2 separate regions of the Homo sapiens genome follow, and region 2 is linked to region 1. The links are contacts of gene promoters, found by promoter capture Hi-C in blood cells and fetal thymus (Javierre and others, 2016). All regions are on one chromosome and are shown on one strand. The core of a region is centred on a gene start or on the middle of the fragment in contact, and the rest is flanking DNA. Distances in the headings are between cores, read along the strand shown.

The links. The method cuts DNA at HindIII sites, captures the fragments that hold promoters and counts their contacts. A CHiCAGO score of 5 or more calls a contact.
Region 2: a fragment that was not itself captured here is called in contact with the fragment with the promoter of SCEL in region 1 in 1 of 17 cell types (naive B cells); the score reaches 5.0 in naive B cells.

The regions. Positions count from the first base shown.
Region 1 is chr13:77,532,313-77,539,018 of GRCh38, reverse strand. SCEL (sciellin) reads right to left here and starts at 3,313. Exons shown (of 33, transcript NM_144777.3): 1 at 3,195-3,313. The HindIII fragment of the contact is 4,847 bases long and covers 37-4,883 here.
Region 2 is chr13:77,271,027-77,277,732 of GRCh38, reverse strand. MYCBP2 (MYC binding protein 2) reads left to right here. Exons shown (of 83, transcript NM_015057.5): 5 at 4,065-4,261. Among named protein-coding and RNA genes, the nearest start is that of MYCBP2, 53 kb to the left of the region's middle. The HindIII fragment of the contact is 632 bases long and covers 3,812-4,443 here.

The DNA of each region.
Region 1 (6,706 bases), core at 2,064-4,563:
GAGGGCAGGGCAATAGGGATAGTTTTCTCCAAAGCTTTTTAACTAAAATTAGCTCTCCATACAGACATGTGCCATGCTTATTTCATAATTTTATTGCATTTTCTAGAACATTGACACAGTCTCCTGGGATGTATATATCTCAGTTTGGAAAATATGGCTTATAGTTCACTGTCTTTCCCCAGGAGGCTTCATATGAAGGATACGTAATCACATTTTAGAGTCAGGGAAACTTGGGTCTACAGACAAAGAATAAATTATTCAGATTTTTAGAGCTATCAAGTATACTATTACAAGGAGGATTCAGGATGATCAGTTCTTGTATCTAGAAGTAAACCAGTTGTCATTGAATAGGTAGCTATAAAATTCACTGTTCCAATTAAGTATCACAATAAAAGGATGACTCATGTCCTTAAAAAATTTAGTAATCGACATGAAATGAAAGTCTAGTACGTGTAGCTGTCATTTGGCAAAGCATCCATGTGAGGAAGAGCTTCTCCCGAGCTTCAAAATCACAAGTTCATGGAAAAAAATCACAGTTTACCATTTGTACAATGGTAAGCTGGAAACACTTAAGGAATATAACTGATAAAGACTTTTGATTAAGGCCGGGCGCATTGGCTATGCCTGTAATCCCAGCACTTTGGGAGACCAAGGCGGGTACATCACTTGAGGTCAGGAGTTCAAGACCAGCCTGGCCAACATGGTGAAACCCCGTCTATACTAAAAATAGAAAAATTAGTCGGGTGTGGTGGTGCACACGTGTACTCCCAGCTACTCAGGAAGCTGAGGCAGGAGAATCGCTGGAACATGGGAGGCGGAGGCTGCAGTAACCCGAGATTGTGCCATCGCACTCCAGACTGGGGAAAAGAGCGAGACTCCATTTAAAAAAAAAAAAAAAAAAAAGACTTTTGATTCAGAAGTGAGCTTTGAACAACTCCAGCTATGTATGCAGCAATTAATACCTAAAATCTTTATTTCAAAGTACCCAGCCAAAGAAAATGGAAAATGATCAACAAATGGTCTAGAAGCAGGACAATGACAGAAAGCGAAGCCATATGGAACCAATAAAGATTTCCCTTGGACTGCAAGGCCAAAGATTTTATCCCCTCACTCTTAAGAAATGCTGGGAGTTGATGCCTGAACCGTATAAGATACTCTCAGTTAAACAATGTTTGCTTAATTTGACGGCTTCGTGAATTGTGTTCAGTTCATTCCACAGTATGAGCTCAGTCATTCAAAATTTGTTTTGTTTACATAGTCCCCAGGAATATGAACCTCTCAGGTATTTCATCATAATTCTGGTAGTCTGAGAAGGCAGTCAGGTAAGCATCACCTACAGAATGGCATTCGAGGCAAGGGTGTTCTGATTGTACAGACCACAGCTAACACACATACATCAGATCCCCTCCCTGCTGAGGGGCTACTGGCTCCTGAGATGAAAATCTCATAAATATAATAAACGGCAACACTGATTCCATAAGCCACAAGTTGGAAAACGTATTCTATTATGTCTTAGTCATACCATACACACTATAATATTTCCACATGTGCTGGGTAACCACAGTCTGTGATGGAGTGTGGCTCATTTATTGCTACTACATATTTTATGATAAAAAGCATTTGAAAAAATATTGAGAAAATTCAGTAAGACAAAAGACAAGCAATCTGGCATCGTGCTCTGGTTCTGCTACTCTGATCTTCACAAGTTGCTTAACATTTATGCTTTGATTTTCTCAACTAGAAAATTCAGGCATTAGACTAGATGGGCCTATGCTCCGTTTCAGTTGAAATATTCTGTCAATTAGATCTAAGATTTATACGACGCTAACATTCCAATAAAAATTCTGGCCTGTTGTTGGCATTCTATGCATATCCCGACATTTAGGATCATCTGAATGTTTTACTAAAATTTTTACTGTTGTCATTTCTCAGTTTTCTCAAATTGATGTTTCCAATACTTTAAACACTGGAGCACCACATATATTAGGAAGGCTTTATCTACGTTATAAACTATGGAAGTGAAAGACAGTTTTAAATGTAATCACATTTTATGAAAAATAAAATTATCCACACTTGCTACACTTTAGTTTTCTGGTTACTATAAACACTTGAAAGCCAAGTTGTAAAATTCTTCTGTAAACCTTTGGGAAATGAGCACTGGTGTGTCTAACCCCCTCTCAGACTGCAGGTGACCTTGTCAGCAATAGGAAGCCATGAGAACTCAAGTACTACAGATAGAGCCAGGTATGCTGTGGGGGCACCTCTCTGGAGGACACAGAGCTGCAATTTGCAAGCTGTGAGTGGCCCCTGCATTTGAATCCCACAGCTCTGTATCATAAATAGAAATGATGAGAAAAAACACAAGTCAGCTTAGCTATTAATTATAAAAGAAAGCTCTGTTAAAAGAACTCTTCTAGCCTTATCAAAAGTCTCCCAAAACTGGTTTTTCAGGACTAGGCTATGAATAAAGTTTGAAAATTGCCCCCATATACATTAATCACTCCTTAGGTTAGAATGCAGAATATACCATAGAGAAGTTGGCCAGATGCCCACAGATCCCTGTGAGGAACCATGTACCCTTATTCTGCTCCCACACCCTGCCTTTACTCCTTGGTACTTTCAAGTGAGAAATGGTGATTTTCTTATTTGGGGAAGATAGGGTGGAGACAAAAACCTCATAAATATAAACCTCTCTCTCTCTCATAGCTCAGCAACTTGCAATATTTTTAGCAGTAGAGAAAAAAATAAATATGACTTATTAACTATAAAGCAATATTTGAGTTCACTATTTCACTAAAAGCATCATTTATGAAAACAGAAAGATCCTTTAAAAAATGTTTGTATAGTCGCTTGAGAAAATAAACCAGCAGGTGCTGGTCCCTTCACTTAAAGAATTTATTATCCTTTGTGTGGCAGGATTCACCAGCTGACAGCTCCCACCCAGAAAATCAAATAGGTGCTCGTTTCTGTGATGCCCATAACGTGTAAAATTGCCAAGAAGTTCAATGCAATGTGACCTAAAAGTACAGCAAGGAAGAGCAGAGCTAACAGCCAGCTGGAGGCTGTCAAAATTTACAGGAAGAAAAGACAAAGATAATACAGTAAGTTCTAATTTTAATCATTTGTAAGGAACACAGAGAAAGCTGTGCACATACAGCAGATGTATTTCTGTTTGCAAGTATAATTCAACTTACCTCTATTGAGCAGAAAATCAGGACTTTTTGGCTAACCAGCCTGTAGTGATTCCCTGGGAGGATCTGGCTGAAAGAAATGGGAACCTAGAGTTTATTCAGTGGAGTCTCAACCTCTACCTGACTGTATTAGTGAACAGTTCAGAGGTTTCTTGCTCAGCGGCTGAGTCACTCAGGGAGGAGGTGTGTGGTATGCAACAGGGTGTCACCTTGTACAAATACCAGTTCAATTAAAGCATTCTCACTCATATACCTACTGTCTTTGTTTGAATTCTTTGTTTAACTTATGGCCTTATGCAAAAAAAAAAAAAACATATATATATATATGCTCCTGTGATCACCCTTTTAACTGATATCAACAGTATGCACAACCATATCACTGACAAGGTGGCATAGGACCCAACCTATTTTGTATTCTCTTTCAAAAAATAAAATTGAAAACTCAAGATAGAAGGAACCCCCATACACCCATAGTACCTGGAAGGCAGGGGCACAGACAAGCATGCAAGGAGTATATGGCTTAAAGGAATCTTCAAGACAAACAAATTCTCAGAAACCCAGGAACCCTAGGATTAGAAAACACAAAAGAAGTCTGTTCCACACATTCTACACCTAGACTATTTTGTAAAACTATCAGAGGGAAAATACACCTAGCATGTAAGAATTCTAATCTCTATCTTATTTATCCATGTATAAAAAAATGTGAAAAGGGGCCAGGCGTGGTGGCTCACATCTGTAATCCCAGGACTTTGGGCGGTGGAAGCAGGCGGATCACCTGAGGTCAGCAGTTCAAGATCAGCCTGGCCAACATGGTAAAACCTGATCTCTACTAAAAATATAAAAATTAGCTGGGCGTGATGGCACACACCTGTAACCCCAGCTATATTAAATAACTATAACACACCATGATAAAGTCATATACAGAAATTTTCAATGCCAGGCATCGCATAGTGGAGAGAAGGAAGAACCTGGAAGGTGATGTTGATGCAGAGTTTTAAAGTCTGAGTGGACAATGATTAGATGGTCAAGAAGAAGAAGAACCATTCATCCACTCTGGCAGGAGGAGGCAGGAGAATCACTTGAACCAGGGAAGTGGAGGTTACAGTGAGCCAAGATCACACCACTGCACTCTAGCCTAGGCAACAGAGTGAGACTGTCTCAGAAAAAAAAAAAAAATGTGAAAAGGATGGTTGAAACTTCTTTCAATGCTGAGGGCAGCAGTAGACCCAACATCAAAGGCTGCTTCTGGCCAGTTGCAGTGGCTTTCACTTGCACTTTGGGAGGCCAAGGTGGGAGGATCACTTGAGCCAAGAAGTTCGAGACAAACTGGGCAACACAGTAAGAGAAGATCTCATCTCTACTAAAAATAAAAAAATCAGCTGGGTGTGGTAGTGCATGTCTTTGGTCCCAGTTACTCAGGAGGCTGAGGCAAAGAGAGTCTCTTGAGCATGGGAGGACCAAGCCACAGTGAGCTGTGATCACACCACCGCATTCCAGTATGGGTGACAGAGTGAGACCCTATCTCAAAAAACAAAACAAACAGACAAAAAAAACAAAAAAAACCCAACAAAAAACAAAGGCTGCTTCCGCTGGGAGGAAGGAGTAACACTGAAGAGCCATTCTAGGCGGGGACTCCTGTTACAGGTTTTGAAACACACCTTCCCTAAGAGCCAAAGAGGCTTTAAAGAAGCTTAGCAAACATTGTTGAGAGAAGCCACGTCATCAGAACTTCCTGGGTGATCGTCATTCATATGTCACACCAGCAATGAACCAAATCCCCCCTGAACAACTGCTCCTGAAAACTACAATGCAGCTGAGTGACGCCCACTGAAATGACTGTAACAAGAAGCAGAAACCCAGACTGAAGAGCAAGGCAATTGCAGTATGTGGTCATTGTGACTGGGAGACCACTTCCTGTATGTTCCCTGATGTTCCCTTATTCTGGGCTGAGGAATTTGAAAATCTAAAATGGAAAATGTTCTTTCAAAGTAAAACATATATACGTGTCTACTCAGCTTTTTTATGGAATTTTATACATGCAAAATATTTTTAAAATATGCTTTAAGTTTCTGTGATGCCCAAAAATCTTGGTTTGAATATTAATATTACAAATGATAAAGCTGAAAAACAAAGACGTGACTTAACTCAAAAGATAAACTAGAAGCAATCTTCAGCCTTAGAACTTAGCCAAAAAGAAAGAAAACAGTTTAAGAGCTCCCTTGTAGGGATAAGTTGTAATTTACATTACAGAATGTTGAAATATATTACTTCATGAAACACAGAACCAGAAAGATAAGTTTTTATCTTATAATGAAGTAAAGTGCAGCTACTCAAGTTATGGATTTTGAGCTTCCAAGCAATTATTTCTGCATGCAATTAAGGGTTTCTCTTACTTTATACATCAGACCATCCACACTGCTAAGCCAAACCAGTGTTTTTTCATTTAGAATCAAATCTCTAGTATAAAAAGGGACTAATTCTAAACCATTGAGCAAAATTCAGACCTCTTCATGCTGAGCAGACATGACTGCCTAAAATTTAAAATCTCAAATGTGAAGAGGTTGAATCAAGAACGTTTTCGGGTGTGGAGGTAGCCAAATAGCCTGAGCATTAGTTTCACTCAGGTGTTTAACTGGGAAGACTTGGGCATGCTTGGAATAACTTGGCTTCACCACACCTATTCACTTTCAGTGTTGGAGTTCTTAAGATCTCTCTAGAACTGTAAGCTCAGAAGCTGAAATGCCAAATGGGTTTTATCTCAGGTACAAATGCCAATTGATTGGTGATGGCTTCCTGGAGGAATATGTTGAGGTTTGTAAGCAAGTAGGGACTCAACAAGGGAATGTCCATGGTTAATTAGCAATATCCACCACAGGTCTTGAATGGGGGAATGTTTTCTGACCCTGTCTCATAAAATTAGATGTTGCAACATCACATTGCTTTGTCTATGTGTTATATCCAAAGAAACAACCAGCCAAAATGAGCACCGTTTTTTTGAGTTTAGGTTCACAGCAAAATTCAGAATAAACAACAAAGAGTTCATGTATACCCTCAGTGTCCCCATTACCAACATCCCACATCACAGTGGGACATTTGTTACAATTAATGAACCTGCATGGATGCATCACTAACACCCGAAGTCCATAGTTTACATCAGGGTTCATTCTTGGTTTTGTATATTCTTTGAGTTTGGAGAAATGCCTAATGACATGTATCCACCATTATAGTACCACACAGAGTAGTTTTGCTGCCCTAAAAAATCCTTTGTGTGCTGCCTAGTCATACCTCCCTCCCTGCAGCCCCTGTTAACCGCTGTTCTTTTTACTGTCTCCATAGTTTTGCCTTTCGCAGAATGTCGTATTGTTGGAATCATGTAGTATGTAGCATTTTCCAGACTGGCTTCTTTTACATAGTAATATGCATTGAAGTTTTCGTCATGTCTTTCCATTTAAGTTTTCTCCATGGCTTAATAGTTCATTTCTTTTGAGTGTTAAATAATATTCCAAGGCCAGGCA
Region 2 (6,706 bases), core at 2,878-5,377, 260 kb after region 1:
GGTGTTTCTGATTCCATAGACTTGGGGTGGGGCCCAAAAGTTTGTATTTGGAATTAGTTTCTTGGTGATACAGATGCTGGTTTGAGGAGTACACTGCTGGTTTAGACTAAAACTTGGTCCTTTTTTTCCGACTTGGCTATTTAGATTTTGTAGGACCCACCTGTGAGAACCAAACTGCATGAACCTAACTACATGTCAGATTTTTCTTTTTTGGTCGCATGTGGGGACTCAGTTATTGTGTTTGACTTTTGTTTGTTTTAATGAGAGGGAGGATGCTGGTCATTGAAACAAGCTGAGGATTTTTTAAAACCACCCCCCTCACATACACAGTTATTAAAAGCTATTACCAAATAGAAGCTGTCATGTTGGCAGGCAAGCACCGTGTTGGTTATTGTTATGATAGCACCAGTGATCATATTAATATTGTGAAGTGCTGCTTGGCTTGACAGCATTTTACTGAAGATTTGATTTATTTTATTTAACAATATTTTGCTCGGTTTTCTTGGATTTGGTTTGTTAGTTAGCAAATAATTGGAATGTTGAAATACCCGCGAAGACTTGGATGTCGTATTTCCTACTTTGAACATGTTATTTCTTTCCTCCTAAGTCTTCTACCATTCTCATGTCTCATGTCAGTTGTTATATACTTTCCTTTGTATCCATTCTGTACATACTTTCTTTCCTTTATTCTTTTAAAACTAGAACTTGTTCTTAATACTGGCTTTGGCATATAATATGTGCTTTAGTCTTATCTTCCATCAAAACTTTCACATTATTGGCTGGGTGTGGTGGCTTATGCCTGTAATCCCAGCACTTTGGGAGGCTGAGGCAGGAGGATAGCTTAAGGCTGGGAGTTTGGGACCAGTCTGGGCAACTTAGACCCCTATCTCTCCAAAAAAAAAAAAAAAAAAAAAAACTGGGCATGGAAATGAGTGCTACTCAAGAGGCTAAGGTGGGAGGACCGCTCGAGCCCAGGAGTCTGAGGCTACAGTCGGCTGTGATCATGCCACTGCGCTGCACTCTAGCTGGGTGACAGAATGAGACCTCATCTCTACCAAAAAAAAAACCCCCAAAAAATCCCACAAAACCCAAAAATATTTCACCTTATTAATCTGTTCATTTTTATTTTCTTGTTTAAAGTTTCAAATTCTGCTGTACTGCCTTTCGTCTGTCTTCCATCCTTTCAGTGTTTACTGCTGATCTCGTCACTGCTTTGGCTTATTTTTCTATGTAAGGGATTTATTATCACTTCATGTTTTCTATTTTGTTAAATTAGCTCAAAGATAAAAGCACTGATTTGGTTCTTTTATACTAAATTTCTTTTGAAACTTGCCTCTCCTCCTTTTTTTAATCTAATATCACAATCTTATTGGTTATCCTTTTTTTCCCATTCGGTTGTTTTCGTGTTATTCATGAAAATATGTGTATATTTATATAACTCTTACTGTGGAACATCTTGATGATTAGTATACACCAAGCTTCTTCTCTTTGCAAATAGATTTTGATTTTTAAATTATCTATTTAAAAATATATTTCCTTATATCCATATATTCTGTTCAATTAGATTATATTCTCGAGTACTCACTGAAATGTAATAGCACCCCCTTTGTTATGTGCTAAGAATGTGCGATACTATTGCTGTTATTATGGAACTTAGCATCAGAGAGTTGGATATGTGTATAATTACAAATGTGGATAAATCGTATGGAGGAAAGTAGAAGGAGTTCTGAGAGTCCTTTTTTGTTTTTTGAGACGGAGTCTCGCTCTGTTGCCCAGGCTGGAATGCAGTGGTGCGATCTTGGCTCACTGCAACTTCCACCTCCTGGGTTCAAGCTATTCTCCTGCCTCAGCTTCCTGAGTAGCTTGGACTACAGGCGCGTTCCACAATGCCCGGCTAATTTTTGTATTTTTAGTAGAGACAGGGTTTCACTATGTTGGCCAGGCTGGTCTCAAACTCCTGACCTCAGGTGATTTGCCCACCTCAGCCTCCCAAAATGCTAGGATTACAGGCATGAGCCACTGCGCCTGGCCAAGATTCCTTTTTTAACTTAAAAATTTTTTATTTATTTATCTTTAGGGACAGGATCTTACTATATTGCCCAGGGTAGCCTCAAACCCTGGACTCAAGTGATCCTCCTGCCTCCACCTCCCAAGTAGCTGTGACTATAGGTACACACTGCTGCACCCAGCTCCTTCTGAGAGTCTTTAACAGGCTCCCTGAAGATGTGACATATGAGATTTAGAGGGTGAATAGGAGGGAGTGAATTCGATTATAAGTGCTCTAGGCAGAAATAACAGCATTTAGTAAGGCTCTGAGACAGAAAGGAGAATGAATGAAAAGAAGAGCAATATGGCTAGAATGTGGAGAGTGAAGGAAACAGTCTTGTGACAGGTGAGGAAGGAGGCAGGGACATGCAGAGCTTTACATGCCATGTTAAAGAATTTGATTAGTGGGCTAGGAGGAATGGAAAGTCATTCTCTATTTCATTACATGAAGAATATTGTTTTTTAAATAGCCTTATTTTCTTAAATTATTTGTTTAAACTATTGACTATTTTCTTTCCCTGGATTCTTAACCTTTTTGAAAGGGTAGAGACATTCTTTGTCATGTTTGCCAATACCCTAGTGTAGAATAGTTGCCAGTGTGTGAGAGTTCGGTATATATTTGCTGAATAATCAACAGATGTACTCACTGAAGGATAATAATTGGAGGAAGGATGGGTAGATGGAAATATGGACAAACAGGGATAGATGAAAGGATGGAGGGAAGGAAGGATAGCTGGAGGAAAAGGTAGAGGAAAGGATAAATGGAAAAAAATGGAAGTATAGGATGTGTACAGACAAGTGAAGAGAGGAAGGGGGAAAGAAAAGAAGACAGAAGGGAGGAAGAAATTAACAAAGGAGTGAAAGAATTTTAAGTAGACAATCAGATTTTTGGTTTGAAATTCTCCCTGGCTATTGGGGCAAAAGCGAATGGTAAGAGATAATTTCTTAACACTTTTTATCAAAGAGATGATGATAGCATGGATTGGAAAGATGATGATGAGATAGGGAAAAGTGGAGTTATCCATTAGGAAGTAAAATAAACAGGACTTAATTTGGGATTAGCTATGGAAGATGAGGGATTGGTAGGGGCTGCCTGGGTTTCTGTAAGTTACCAGATAACCCACAGGTGGCATTTTAGTTTTTAGAGAATTGCAGTACATTACTCCTCTTTCTCTTGTTCTCCTCCTTCTCTCCCTTCCCTTTCCCTCTCTTCATGTTTCTCAGTTTTTCTTTTTCTAACTCTCTTTTTCCCTCTCCATCTGATTATTCACTCTATAAGGATTTTCAAGTCTCCGTTCTATGGAAGAAATACCCAGATGTCTGTTGATTGAATCTTAGATGGAGGTGTTCAGGGAATTTTGTGCAGAGACCTCTGCTGGTTGTAAAACATTTGTGTGTGTGTGTGTTTCATCTTCACCACTAAATGACTTTATGATTTAGGAAAAATCTTTTGATACCACATATCTCAATTTCATTATTAAAGGGGGAGAATATCTGTCCTATTGACTTGGAGGTTTTTCTAGGGTATAAATGAATTACATCCTAAGTGTGAATTGCTATTATGTTAATGATATAGCCAATTTTATATTAAAGCACATTATTGCATATGTTTTATGTTTCTATTACTTTGAAAATATATACATAATTTCCTGGACACTTAACATTTTAAGAAGCCTCCTAATCTAAAAGGTAAAATAAGTATGACAAGTAGTCTATTACTTGATAGGATGAGTTTCTTGAATATGTGAATGCCTCTAGGCAAGCTTGTTTTAAAAGACCTTAGATTGTCTTTTTTTACTAAGAAAAATAAGGAGTTGAACTGAATGTTCTTTAAGACCCTTGTTACATAAATATTTTAACTTTTGGGGAAGAGAGTAACTAGAAAGAAACTAAAGCAAAGTAATTGTTCTAGATTCCTTAAATTTCGTTTATAATGAGACAAAGTAAAAATAAATAAATATACGCATATAATGTTCCGTATGTTGGATGAATATAATTGAATTCTATTTTATCCACAGAGTCTCTCTTCCAGCTTCTTTTGGAAATCACCGTTCGAAGTACTGGGATGAATGACAGCACAGGACAGTCCTTAACAGCACTTTCCTGTGCTTGCCTCTTTAGTCTGGTGGCTTCTTGGGGAGAAACAGGAAGGACACTTCAGGCCATCTCTGCTATCCTCACCAACAATGGAAGCCATGCTTGCCAAACTATTCAGGTATTTCATATTTATATCTGCTTAGAAGTTTATAAGATGACAAGTTACAGTTTCGTCTCAATTTCTGTCAATAGGAATTCTGCTTTTTCTCACTCATTACAGTAGCTTAATCTGTCCAAGATTGATACATAAATAATCTACAGTATTTCAATTAAGTGATATGTATGTTTAACTCTGAAGCTTTAAATATAATAAAATGAATTTTGGCCAGACCTCTTAAATCTTTAAGCTGGTCTTTGCCTTAACACCATAGCCTTCTCTTTCCTTGCTGTTTTCTTGCTGTCTGCGTTCTCCCTTCTTCCCATCTTTCCCTGAGTTTTTTAGTATGGAATTCATTCATGGTTTTAAATATCTTTTCTCTATTGAAAGAAAAAGATATGGTATCAATCTGATATATTTTTGATTGGTTGATTATGATTTTTTTATGAATTGATTCGTTTCTGAGTTACTTCAGCTGTGTATAAAACATTTTAGGCTTTTAATATTCAGTTGTGGAACAAACAAGCTCATCACCATTTTAGTGGTGGGAAAAATAATCCTTATAGGCAAACTTGACTTAATTATTTGGGAAGGCTCTGGAAATTGAGAAAGAAGTTATGATCTTAAGACCTGACTGTCTACTCTTCTCTGGCCCCTTGGGCAACCCTAGGGCAGGTGGAAGGGATGCCTCAATCCTGTTATTAGCAGACCAAAGATAGCAAAAGGAGTATATTGGTCATTTTCTGTCTTATTCAGTGATTTTGAACTCTCCTGGTCAAACAAGACCCATTCCCTTACTCAAGATTTCTGCTCTTTTCTTCCTTTCTGCCTTGCTTGGAATCCTTTTGTCCCTTTTTATGGTCCTTAATTATTTTGAAGTTGCTCTAATACAGTGGTTTTCAAGCTGTGTTCTGTAGACATGCTTTCAGGGTTTGGCAAATGTTTAATTTAAATATATGTTTAAAATATGCAAATATTTTAAAAATTGTAATAAAGTAACACAAACATTCAGATACCATATACCAGATTTTAATAGGATAGTGACCACCAACATATGAGCTTATGAATTTTGATATGATTTGCTTTTATATAGAGACTTAGGAATGCCATTAGAGCTCATAGCAGGAGTATAAGAACTACGTTCATGGAAAGCCTCCCAGAGGATATGAGGTGAGATCTAAACTAATGAGTTGAAATCAGCCAGGAGAAATTTTTGGTGTTGGTGGTGTAGAGAGAGAATGTTCTAGGTATCCACATGCTAAGGCATGGAGGTGAGAGTAAGAGTGAAATATTTGAAAGCTGAAAGAAGTTTAGTATAGCTATAGCATAGAGAGCTGTCAAATAGCGTAGCCACAGCATACAGAGCTGGCAAATAACAGAGACAGGACTCGAGGGCTTATCTGTCTCCAATATTTATGCTCAATCACTAGACAACACAAAACTACTTGATCCTCTGAATCAATAGCTGCAGTTCTCTACAGACCTGCCACATCACCACATCCCCAACTCTAGCCTAAACTCCATATTAAAGCCCATTACCTTAACATGGCTTGCAGTGCTCTTCATGATTTGGCCTTTTATCTACCAACTTCATTTCCCAAAACTCTCCTGGCCTGACTGTTGGTAGAGGGAGAAAAGCTTTCCCTGAGAATGTGTGCATTAAGTCCGTTTTCACGCTGCTGATAGAGATGTACCCGAGACTGGGCAATTTACAAAAGAAAGAGGTTTAATGGATTTATAGTTCCACATGGCTGGAGAAACCTCACAATCATGGTGGAAGGCAAGGAGGAGCAAGTCATGTCTTACGTGGATGGCAGCAGGCAAAGAGAGCTTGTTCAGGGAAATTCCTCTTTATAAAACCATCAGATCTCGTGAGGCTTATTCGCTATCATGAGAACAGCACAGGAAAGACTTGCCCCCATGATCCAGTTACCTCCCACTGGGTCCCTTCCACAACACGTGGGAATTCAAGATGAGATTTGAGTGGGAACACAACCAAACCATATGAGTATGTGTAACTCTTCACATCTCAGATTTGTTTTGGCACCCAAATGCATACTACTTGTCCATTTCATAAAGCTTAACAGAGAGTTTAAAGCAGGGTAGACATGGTAGTACTGCAAGATGCTGTATTGAAAGACACTGAAATCCTTTCTGGAGGGTTGAACTCTTGACTTCAAAGGCTTTCTGCAAATAAAACACTATTTATTGCATTTGAGCTCAGAAACAAATTAATAAAAAAAGCACATGGAAAAAGGCACCATTATTGAGAATTAGCAGAAACAAATATGGTAGAATCAATCCTGCCAAGTCCTTAGATATTGAAATTATTTGATATAGAATGTGTATGTGTATGAATATATAAAGTATGGTTAAAGTAATAAAAGAAAATATCAAAAGTATGATTAAGTAGTGAGAATATAAAAAGTAGTCAGACATTAGGAAAAAAAACAAATCGAACTCCTA